Linked DNA regions of Homo sapiens: region 1 is linked to region 2. The links are contacts of gene promoters, found by promoter capture Hi-C in blood cells and fetal thymus (Javierre and others, 2016). All regions are on one chromosome and are shown on one strand. Each heading gives the region's core, a stretch centred on a gene start or on the middle of the fragment in contact. The rest is flanking DNA. Distances are from core to core; before and after follow the strand shown. Region 1 has its middle 6.6 kb from the start of AICDA. Region 2 holds the start of CLEC6A (C-type lectin domain containing 6A).

What was found. Contacts are between HindIII fragments. The CHiCAGO score rates a contact against its expected background, and 5 or more counts as called.
Region 1: a contact is called between a fragment that was not itself captured here and the fragment with the promoter of CLEC6A in region 2, in 3 of 17 cell types (M1 macrophages, M0 macrophages and monocytes). The highest score is 7.8, in M1 macrophages.

Annotation. Positions count from the first base shown.
Region 1 is chr12:8,617,161-8,621,759 of GRCh38, reverse strand. No RefSeq gene overlaps it. Among named protein-coding and RNA genes, the nearest start is that of AICDA, 6.6 kb to the right of the region's middle. The HindIII fragment of the contact is 193 bases long and covers 3,234-3,426 here.
Region 2 is chr12:8,453,903-8,458,303 of GRCh38, reverse strand. CLEC6A (C-type lectin domain containing 6A) reads right to left here and starts at 2,342. Exons shown (of 6, transcript NM_001007033.2): 1 at 2,162-2,342; 2 at 317-406. The coding sequence starts at 2,192. The HindIII fragment of the contact is 4,980 bases long and covers 1,761-4,401 here.

The DNA.
Region 1 (4,599 bases), core at 2,081-4,580, 160 kb before region 2:
CACACAAAAAAACAATTAGAACTAATAAATTCAGTAAAGTTGCAGGATTAAAAAGCCAACATACAAAAAGTAGTTGCATTTATTTACAAGAACAAATATCTACCCGAAAAGGAAATCAAGAAACTAATTTCATTTATGATAGCATCAAAAAGAATACAATAGTTAAGAATAAACTTAACCAAGGAGGTAAGAGATATATACACTGAAACTTATAAAACATTGATGAAAGAAGTTGAAGAAGACGACAAATAAGTGGAAGGATATCCTGTGTTCATGGATTAGAAGAGTTAATATTGTTAAAATGTCTATATTGGCCTGGCACAGTGGCTCACGCCTATAATCGCAACACTTTGGGAGGCCAAGGCAGACAGATCATATGAGCCCAGGAGTTCGAGACCAGCCTGAGCAACATGGCAAAACCCCATCTCTACAAGAAATACAAAAATTAGCTGGGCATGGTGGCACATACCTGTAGTCCCAGCTACTCAGGAGGCTGAGGTGGGAGGATCACCTGAACCTCGGAAATCGAGGCTGTAGTGAGCCATGATCATGCCACTGCACTCCAGCCTGCACTCCACTCCTTCAAAAAAAAAAAAAAGTTTATACTAAATAAAGGGACATAGAGATTAAATGATTAAACACAATTCCCATCAAAATTCCATTTTTCAAAGAAATAAACAATTCTAAAATTTGTGTGGAACAAAAGACCCTGAATACACAAATCAATCTTGAGAAAGAAGGACAAAGTTACAGGCATACTTTCTGATTTCAAATTATAGCACAAAACTATGGTAGTCAAAACTGTATGGTACTGGCATAAAAACAGACATGTAGACTAAGAGAATAGAAAACTCCCTAATAAACTCCAGCATACAAAGTCAACTAATTTTCTTTGTGTGTGTGTGTGTGTGTATGTGTTTGAGACAGAGTCTCTGTTGCCCGGCCTGGAGTGCAGTGGCATGATCTCAGCTCACTGCAACCTCCACCTCCCAGGTTCAGTGATTCTCCTGCCTCAGCCTCCCAAGTAGCTGGTATTACAGGCATGAGCCACCACACCTGACTAATTTTTGTATTTTTAGTAGAGACAGGGTTTCACCATGTTGGCCAAGCTGGTCTTGAACTCCTGACCTCAAGTGATCCACCCACCTCGGCCTCCCAAAGTGTTGGAAATACAGACGTGAGCCACCACACCCCACAAGTCAACTAATTTTCAACAGGGGTACCAAGAATACACAGTAGGGAAAGGATAGTCTCTTCAATAAATTGTGTTAGGAAAACTGGATATCCACATGCAAAAGAATGAAATTGGACCCTTATCTTACACCATACACAAAAATCAACTAAAATGGATTAAGGACTTAAATAAGGCCTGAAACCGTAAAACTACTAGAAGAAAATGGGAGTGGGAATGGGCAGCTTCTTGACGTTGGCCTTGGCAATGATGTTTTTGGCTATGACACCGAAAGAATAGGCAATAAAAGCATAAATAAAAAGTGGGACTAAATCAAACTGAAAAGCTTCTACACAGCAAAGAAAACAATCATCAACATGAAAAGGCAACCTATAGGTTAGAAGAAAATATTTGCTAATCATATATCTGATGAAGGGGTTAATGTCCGGCCAGGTGCAGTGGCTAATGCCATATAATCCCAGAACTTTGGGAAGCTGAGGCAGGAGGATCACTTGAGCCAAGGAGTTTAAGGTCAGCCTGGGCAACAAAGTGAGGCCTCTATTCCTACAAAAAAAGTATAAAAATCATCTGGGCATGGTGGCTTGTGTCTGTAGTCCCAGCTACTCGGGAGGCTGAGGCAGGAGGATTGTTTGAGCCTGGGAGGTCAAGGCTGCAGTGAGCTGTGATTGCATCACTGGACTCCAGCCTGGGTGACAGAGCGAGACCCTGTTTCAAAAAGGAAAAAAAGGTAGACAGGGGTTTAATATCCAAAATATATAAGGAATTCATACAACTTAGTACCAAAAAAAAATGTCAACCTAAAATAATCAAAAGGGTCAGAATCTAATTTAAATAAAGTTTATTCAAGGACAAAGTTTGAAGACAGTCCATTCAGAAACACCAACTCTAAGGAAATGGAGTCAGTGTTCTGAACTAGGGAAGTTAAAGTATCATTTATATAGGCAGAGACACAGGAGTTTATGCACACTTACAGCATTTTTCATACAAGGTTGGTGCATAGTTATAACAATTTGATTGATTATAGGCAGTGTTTCTTTTTGGGAAGGGTACATATAGCATCTTTTGCAGATGTTGTAATAGTCATATGTTTTCTGTCATCTGGTCTAGGCAAAGCAAGACGACAAAGGAGAAGTTAATCTATGATAAGGGTCATTAATTAACAAGGCAGGAGGTTTTTGTCCTTGAGGTCATTTAATTTTCTCTAGTTACTGTACAGGACAAGAAAAATAAGGAAGTGGGTTAGTCTATAACTTGAGAAGCAGATGTTGCAACCATATGTGACTCAGATCACAGTCACATCTCTCTCAAGGCTTACAGTGTTTCTGGGGTTCCAACAGCTTTTTAAAATTTTTTTGAGATGGAGTTTCACTCTTGTCGCCCAGGCTGGAGTATAATGGTGTGATCTCAGCATACTGCAACCTCCGCCTCCTGGGTTCAAGCAATTCTGCCGCAGCCTCTCGAGTAACTGGGATTACAGGTATGCGCCACCACACCCAGCTAATTTTTGTATGTTTAGTAGAGATGAGGTTTCACCATGTTGGCCAGGCTGGTCTCGAACTCCTGACCTCAAGTGATCTGCCCACCTCAGCCTCCCAAAGTGCTGAGATTATAGGCGTGAGCCACCGCGCCTGGTCCACGAACAGCTTTTAAATCATATTTATTCTCACATAAATAACCCAATTAAAAATGGACAGAGGACCTGAATAGACATTTCTCAAAAGAAGACATACAATTGTCCAACAAGTGTATGAAAATGTGCTTAACACGGTAATCATGAGGGAAATACAAATCAAAATCACAGTGAGATATCATCTCTGTGAAATAATAAGAATAATATATATTTGGTCTCTGCCCCTGGTTCCTGGCACAGATTTCCTAAAGCCCTGAGAATTTCCTGAGTGATAAGAGCATCTGACACAGAGCTTTCGAATAGCTTGGAATTTCTGGATGACAGGAGTTTGTTTTGTTCTAATGAGATGACTCCTGGTAGGCTCTAGGAGAGGTGCCAGTCCCCAGAAAGACCAAGTCATGACTAGAAGCTTGGAATTTTCAGCCCCACTCCCCATTCTCCCGAGAGACGAGAGGGGCTGGGAATAGAGTAAATAATTAATCGTGCCTACATGATCAAGTCTCCATAAAAATCCCTGAAGTATGGAGTTCAAAGAGCTTCTGAGTTGGTAAATATATCTGTGTAGCAGGAGGGTGGCACACCCCAACTCCAGGGGACAGAAGCTTCTGTGCTCAGACCCCTCCCGTTCTTACCCTCTGTACTTTCATCGAGCTGTTCATACGTAACTTTTTTTTTTTTTGAGACAGAATCTCGCTCTGTCACCCAGGCTGGAGTGCAGTGGTGCGATCTCAGCTACTGCAACCTCTGCCTCCTGAGTTCAAGCGATTCTCATGCTTCAGCATCCTGAGTAGCTGGGACTATAGGTGTGAGCCACCATGCCCAACTAATTTTTGTGTTTTTTTAGTAGAGATGGAAGTTTCATCATGCTGGCCAGACTGGTCTCAAACTCCTGGCCCGAAGTGATCTGCCCACCTTGGCCTTCCGGAGTGCTGGGATTACAGGCATGCACCACCACACCTGGCTTGTATGCTTTATTATATCCTTTATTAGCATAATAAACTGCTAAAAGTTAAGTAAGTGTTTCCCCGAGTTTGCTAAGCCAGCTTAGCAAATTAATGGAACCCAAGGCATGGGTTGTAGGAACCCCTAAGCCAGTTGATCAGAAGTACAGGTCACAACCTGAAATTTGAGATTGGCATCTGAAGTGGGGTCCATCTTGTGGGACTGACCCACAATCTGTGAGGTCTGATGCTATCTCCAGGTAGATAATGCCAGAATTGAATTAAATTATAGAACACCCAGTTGATGTCCACTGGAAAACTGCTTGGTGTATGGGAAAAGACCGGCACACATCTGGTGTCAGAAGGGCTGTGTTGAGTGGTATGTGAAGGTGGAAGAAAAAATAGTCAGTTCTTCCTATTATATGCTTTCTTTTTCTTTTTTTTTTTTTTTAAGACGGAGTCTCACTCTGTCTCCCAGGCTGGAGTGCAGTGGCACGATCTCTGCTCACTGCAACCTCCACCTCCCGGGTTCAAGCAATTCTCCTGCCTCAGCCTCCCGAGTAGCTGGGATTACAGTTGCCTGCCACCACAACTGGCTTATTTTTGTATTTTTTTTTTTCAGTAGAGACGGGGTTTCACCATGTTGGCCAGGCTGATCTCGAACTCCTGACCTCAGGTGATCTGCCTGCCTCGGCCTTCCAAAGTGCTGGGATTACAGATGTGAGCCACCACACCTGGCCCCTATTATTGGGTTTGCATTTTACATTTTTATTTTTTCCTATCTCTTAACCTCACACCTGTTAGAATGGCTATTACCATAAAGACAAAAGAAAACA
Region 2 (4,401 bases), core at 1,093-3,592:
CCAGGGAACACACAATTACTAGTGAATCCAGTCCTGAAAGATGGTGTCTTAGATGATGGCTACAATGGACAACATGGATATGTGAGGCCATGATTCAGAAAATGCTAATAAAACCAGGTAAAGTACATCTACAAGAATTCAGTTTTCAAAAGATAGAGGGAGAAAAACAAAGGGAAAAGGAGAAATCAAGGAAAGTGTGGCATTCCAAGTAAGAGCTGACGTATTAATGGGGCAAAGGAGAATATATCCTAGGAAACCTGTATGGAATATTCAAGGGAAAGGAAGCAAGGAAAATGCACCTCAGTGAAGAACTTACCTACACAGCTCACAATGAAGCAAGCACTGAGGAGTGCAATGGAAATCCCAGCCACAGACCAGAGTCTCAGGGACAACCAGCCTCTTTTCTCTGTCCAATCAGGAAGACAACAAATGCAGTTACCAGGGGGCCAGGGAGCCAAAATCCCCAGGAAGCTTACAACAATGAACAAACTAGATGAAGAACCTCAGAGCAGTTAAAAACTTAAAGCAAGAAGACAGCTTACAAACTCCCTCAGAATAAATAACCAGGTAGTAGCTCTGTGGTCCAAAAGAATACAGGTAAAACATACACTCAACCAACTGGAATTTCCATGTCTTTATTCTTTCTTCTAAACTATTACATGTTTCCATTGATTTCGTTTCTCAAAACATCACTTTTGTCTCCCATTTCTCATATCTCTGTATTGATATTTGGTTTCTTCAGTATATCCAAGAGATATCTGCACTCCCATGTTTATTGTAGCACTATTCACAGTAGCCAAGATATGAAAGCAACCTAAGTGTCCATCAACAGATGAATGGATAAAGAAAATGTAGTATAATATATACAATGGCATATTATTCCACCATAAAAAAGAATAAAATCCTGCCATTTGCAACAGCACAGATGGAACCAGAGGACATCGTGTTAAGTGAAATGAGCCAGGCACAGAAAGACAAACATTGCATATTCTGACTCATATGTGGGAGTTAAAAAAATTGATCTCATGGAGGTAGTGAATAGAATGGTGGTTACCAGAGGCCAGGAAGGTTAACTGGGAAGAGAAGATAGAGAAGGGTTGTTTCGTACCTACAAAAATACAATTAGCTAGAAGAAATAAAATCTAGTGTCCCTTAGCACAGCAGGATAACTGTAGTTAACTTTTTTTTTTTTTTGACATGGAGTCTCACTCTGTCACCCAGGCTGAAGCACAATGAGGCAATCTTGGCACCCTGCAACCTCCACCTCCTGGGTTCAAGTGATTCTCCTGCCTCAGCCTCCTGAGTGGCTAGGATTACAGGTGCATGCCACCATGCCCAGCTAAGTTTTGTCTTTTTATTAGAGACGGGATTTCACCATGTTGGCCAGGCTGGTCTCTAACTCCTGACCTCAAGTGATCCACCCACCTCAGCCTCCCAAAGTGCTGAGATTACAGGTGTGAGCCACTGAGCCTAACCCAACAATAATTTATTGCATATGTCAAAATAGCTAGAAGAGTAGATTTGGAATGTTCCAAACACAAAGACATGATAAATATTTGAGGTGATGGATAATGTAATTTTCCAGACTTTACCATTACGCATCATATTCTTGTGTCAAAATATGACATGGAGCCCATAAACATGCACAACTATTTTGTATCCATAAAAAATTTTAATAAAAATTTTTTTAAAACATTATTGATGGACATGCAAAGGGTTGAAGCTAAAGTCAAATTTTCATGCATTAAAAATGGGAAGCTTTTCTCTTACAAAAAAATTAGAAAAGCAAGTACAAAAAAACTTAGGGTAATTGGAAAGAGTACTGCTTCCTGGATTTCAAAATTAGTCAAAAGACTTTGAAGAGCAGACATCCAATAATCAGTTATTTCCCTGTTTACCTTCTATCATGTAAATCTTTTCTGTCTCCCTAAACTATCAATAAAATCTGGTACAAACCTCCCAAAAAATATTTGCTTTCTTATTCTTTCAAGTGCTTATGGCTCTGGCTCTGAAGAATTACTCTTTCTTTCAAATTCCTTTGAGTCTACTATATTGGTCCAATCACTAGCTCTTCAATCTGTTCTTTGGCTACTTCTTCTCTCCAGGTGATCTCATTTCACCATACACTTCCACTTTCCTCTGAAACTGAGGAAATACTCACCTGTACTTTGAGGTTGCTGCTCTTGCATCATTATGCAGGCTCCCTGTGTTGAGAAGGTCCAGGAACCTTTTGTACCTCTCTCCCTAAAGATGTTGCCCAGAGACTCAGCTTCATTTAAAGAAGCTAGAGCTCAGGGACAAACTGCTACACACTCTTATAGGACTAAGAGACTTCCAACATTAAGTGTACCTCAAAAGAAGAAGTCACAATTACAACTAAAGTTTCCAGTGATTTCGATACGTGGGGTTAAAAAAAACAAAAGAGGAATTGAGAAACATTGAAAACCATTCATGAGAACTTTGACAAGAATACTTAGATCATTTCTTCAGTTTCTAACATAAAATTTCTCTGTCTGATTCCTATTCATTCTGGCATGCAAAATAGAAAATTTTTTATCTCCTAAAAGACATCTATTTAGAGAACTTGGTTAAATTAAGTGCTCCCTAACTAACCTTTACATTGGCTGCTTATTTTATGCAAGCCTTAATCCATGTGTTGAACAGTGTCCTAGGTAGTAAGCAAAAGTTTGATTGGATGGATATGGTTTAGATATGAAGGGTAACATAGTAAATAACAAAACCCATGAACATTGTTAAGGAATGTGACTGCAAAATGAAACATTCTGAAATCAGTCTGCAAAGGTGATGAAACATTCTTACTGCATCCAGACTAATATTGGGCAGATGTCAGTGATATTTTGTAATCTCCCTGATTAGGCAAAAGGGAGCCTGAAGTGATATAAAATCAGAAACAGGCTTCATGAATTTTATATTGTAGCACAGAAAATATATGATGTTTTCTTGTCCTCATAGATTCTTAGTAGAGACACTGTCCTGAAAACAAAAGGCAGAGAAACAAGAGAAAAAGCAGCAGTTTATCAATGTGTGTTATACCCATCACTCAGGAGAGAACTCAGTTCAAATGTATTTATCTCTTTCATGGCAGTGGCTTACAGGCCTTGCTTAAATAGTATGTTAACAAACAGCCATAAATCTATGGAGTGCTGAGAACGAAAAAAAAAAAAAACTGTTATTTGAGGAATGTGAGTGCCTTGAAACTATCAAGTCCAGAGTGGACTCATGAGAGAGATATGACAGGAGTCATGCCTCACTGCCACCTTGCACGAAATTTACCTCTTGAAGCCATTTGCTATGTAGGTTCTAGACTAACTGAACCCTAAAATTTAACAGTATACAGCTAATTACTAATCAATGTGGTTTCTGTAAACCAATGATAATTTACTGATGAGTAACTTTTTAATTCACTCCCTCTCCTGATTCATTCTTTTTTTAATTTTTATTTTTCCATAAGTTATTGAGGTACAGGTGGTATTTGGTTACATGAGTAAGGTTTTTAGTGGTGATTTGTGAGATTTTTGTGCACCCATCACCCAAGCAGCATACCCTGCACCATATTTGTAATATTTTATCCCTCATCCCCCTCCCACTCTTCCCCCCAAGTCCCCAAAGTCCATTGTACCATTCTTATACATTTTGTGTCATCGTAGCTTAGCTCCCCATATCATTGAGAACATATGATGTTTGGTTTTCCATTCCTGAGTTACTTCACTTAGGATAATAGTCTCCAATCTCATCCAGGTCAGTGCAAGTGCTATTAATACATTGCTTCTTATGACTGAGTAGTGGTCCATTGTATATCTATACCACAGTTTCTTTATCCACTCATTGATTGATGAGCATTTGGGATGGTTCCATGATTTTTCAGATTCATTCTTTTTTCTTTAAAATCTTCAGTCTTTCCTTTGCTCTCTAGACCACTTCCCAAGGCAACCTACAAGTGTTTTCCTGGGTAGCTGTCCTCATCCTTTGCCCAAATAAACTCTCTATATTAATGTGGCTTCAGCTACTTCCTTTAGGATGATAGTGAAAAGACAAAGAAGAGAGTATCTTCACGATTCCAAAAGGAAATGAAATACAGGAAGGTATTTTAACAGGAAGAGTAAAATCTGCTTCTAAATCCTTTTACAAGTATCGTAAAGGAGCTAATCCTTAGCTGGGAAAAGTAGAAAGGAAGACAGGAAGACCTTTGTCTTTGTAAATTGTTGTTCTGCCAACAGGCAAGAAGAAGGAGGGGAAGAATGTTCTCCTACATTGCCACCTTTTTCAGCTCAACAATTTGCAGTTATCTTAGAGAAGGTTATTTTGGTTTCCTCCAATCATTACCTAAGGGCTTTGAAATACTTAATCATTCACATGCAGTCTCTAAAATGTAGATCATTC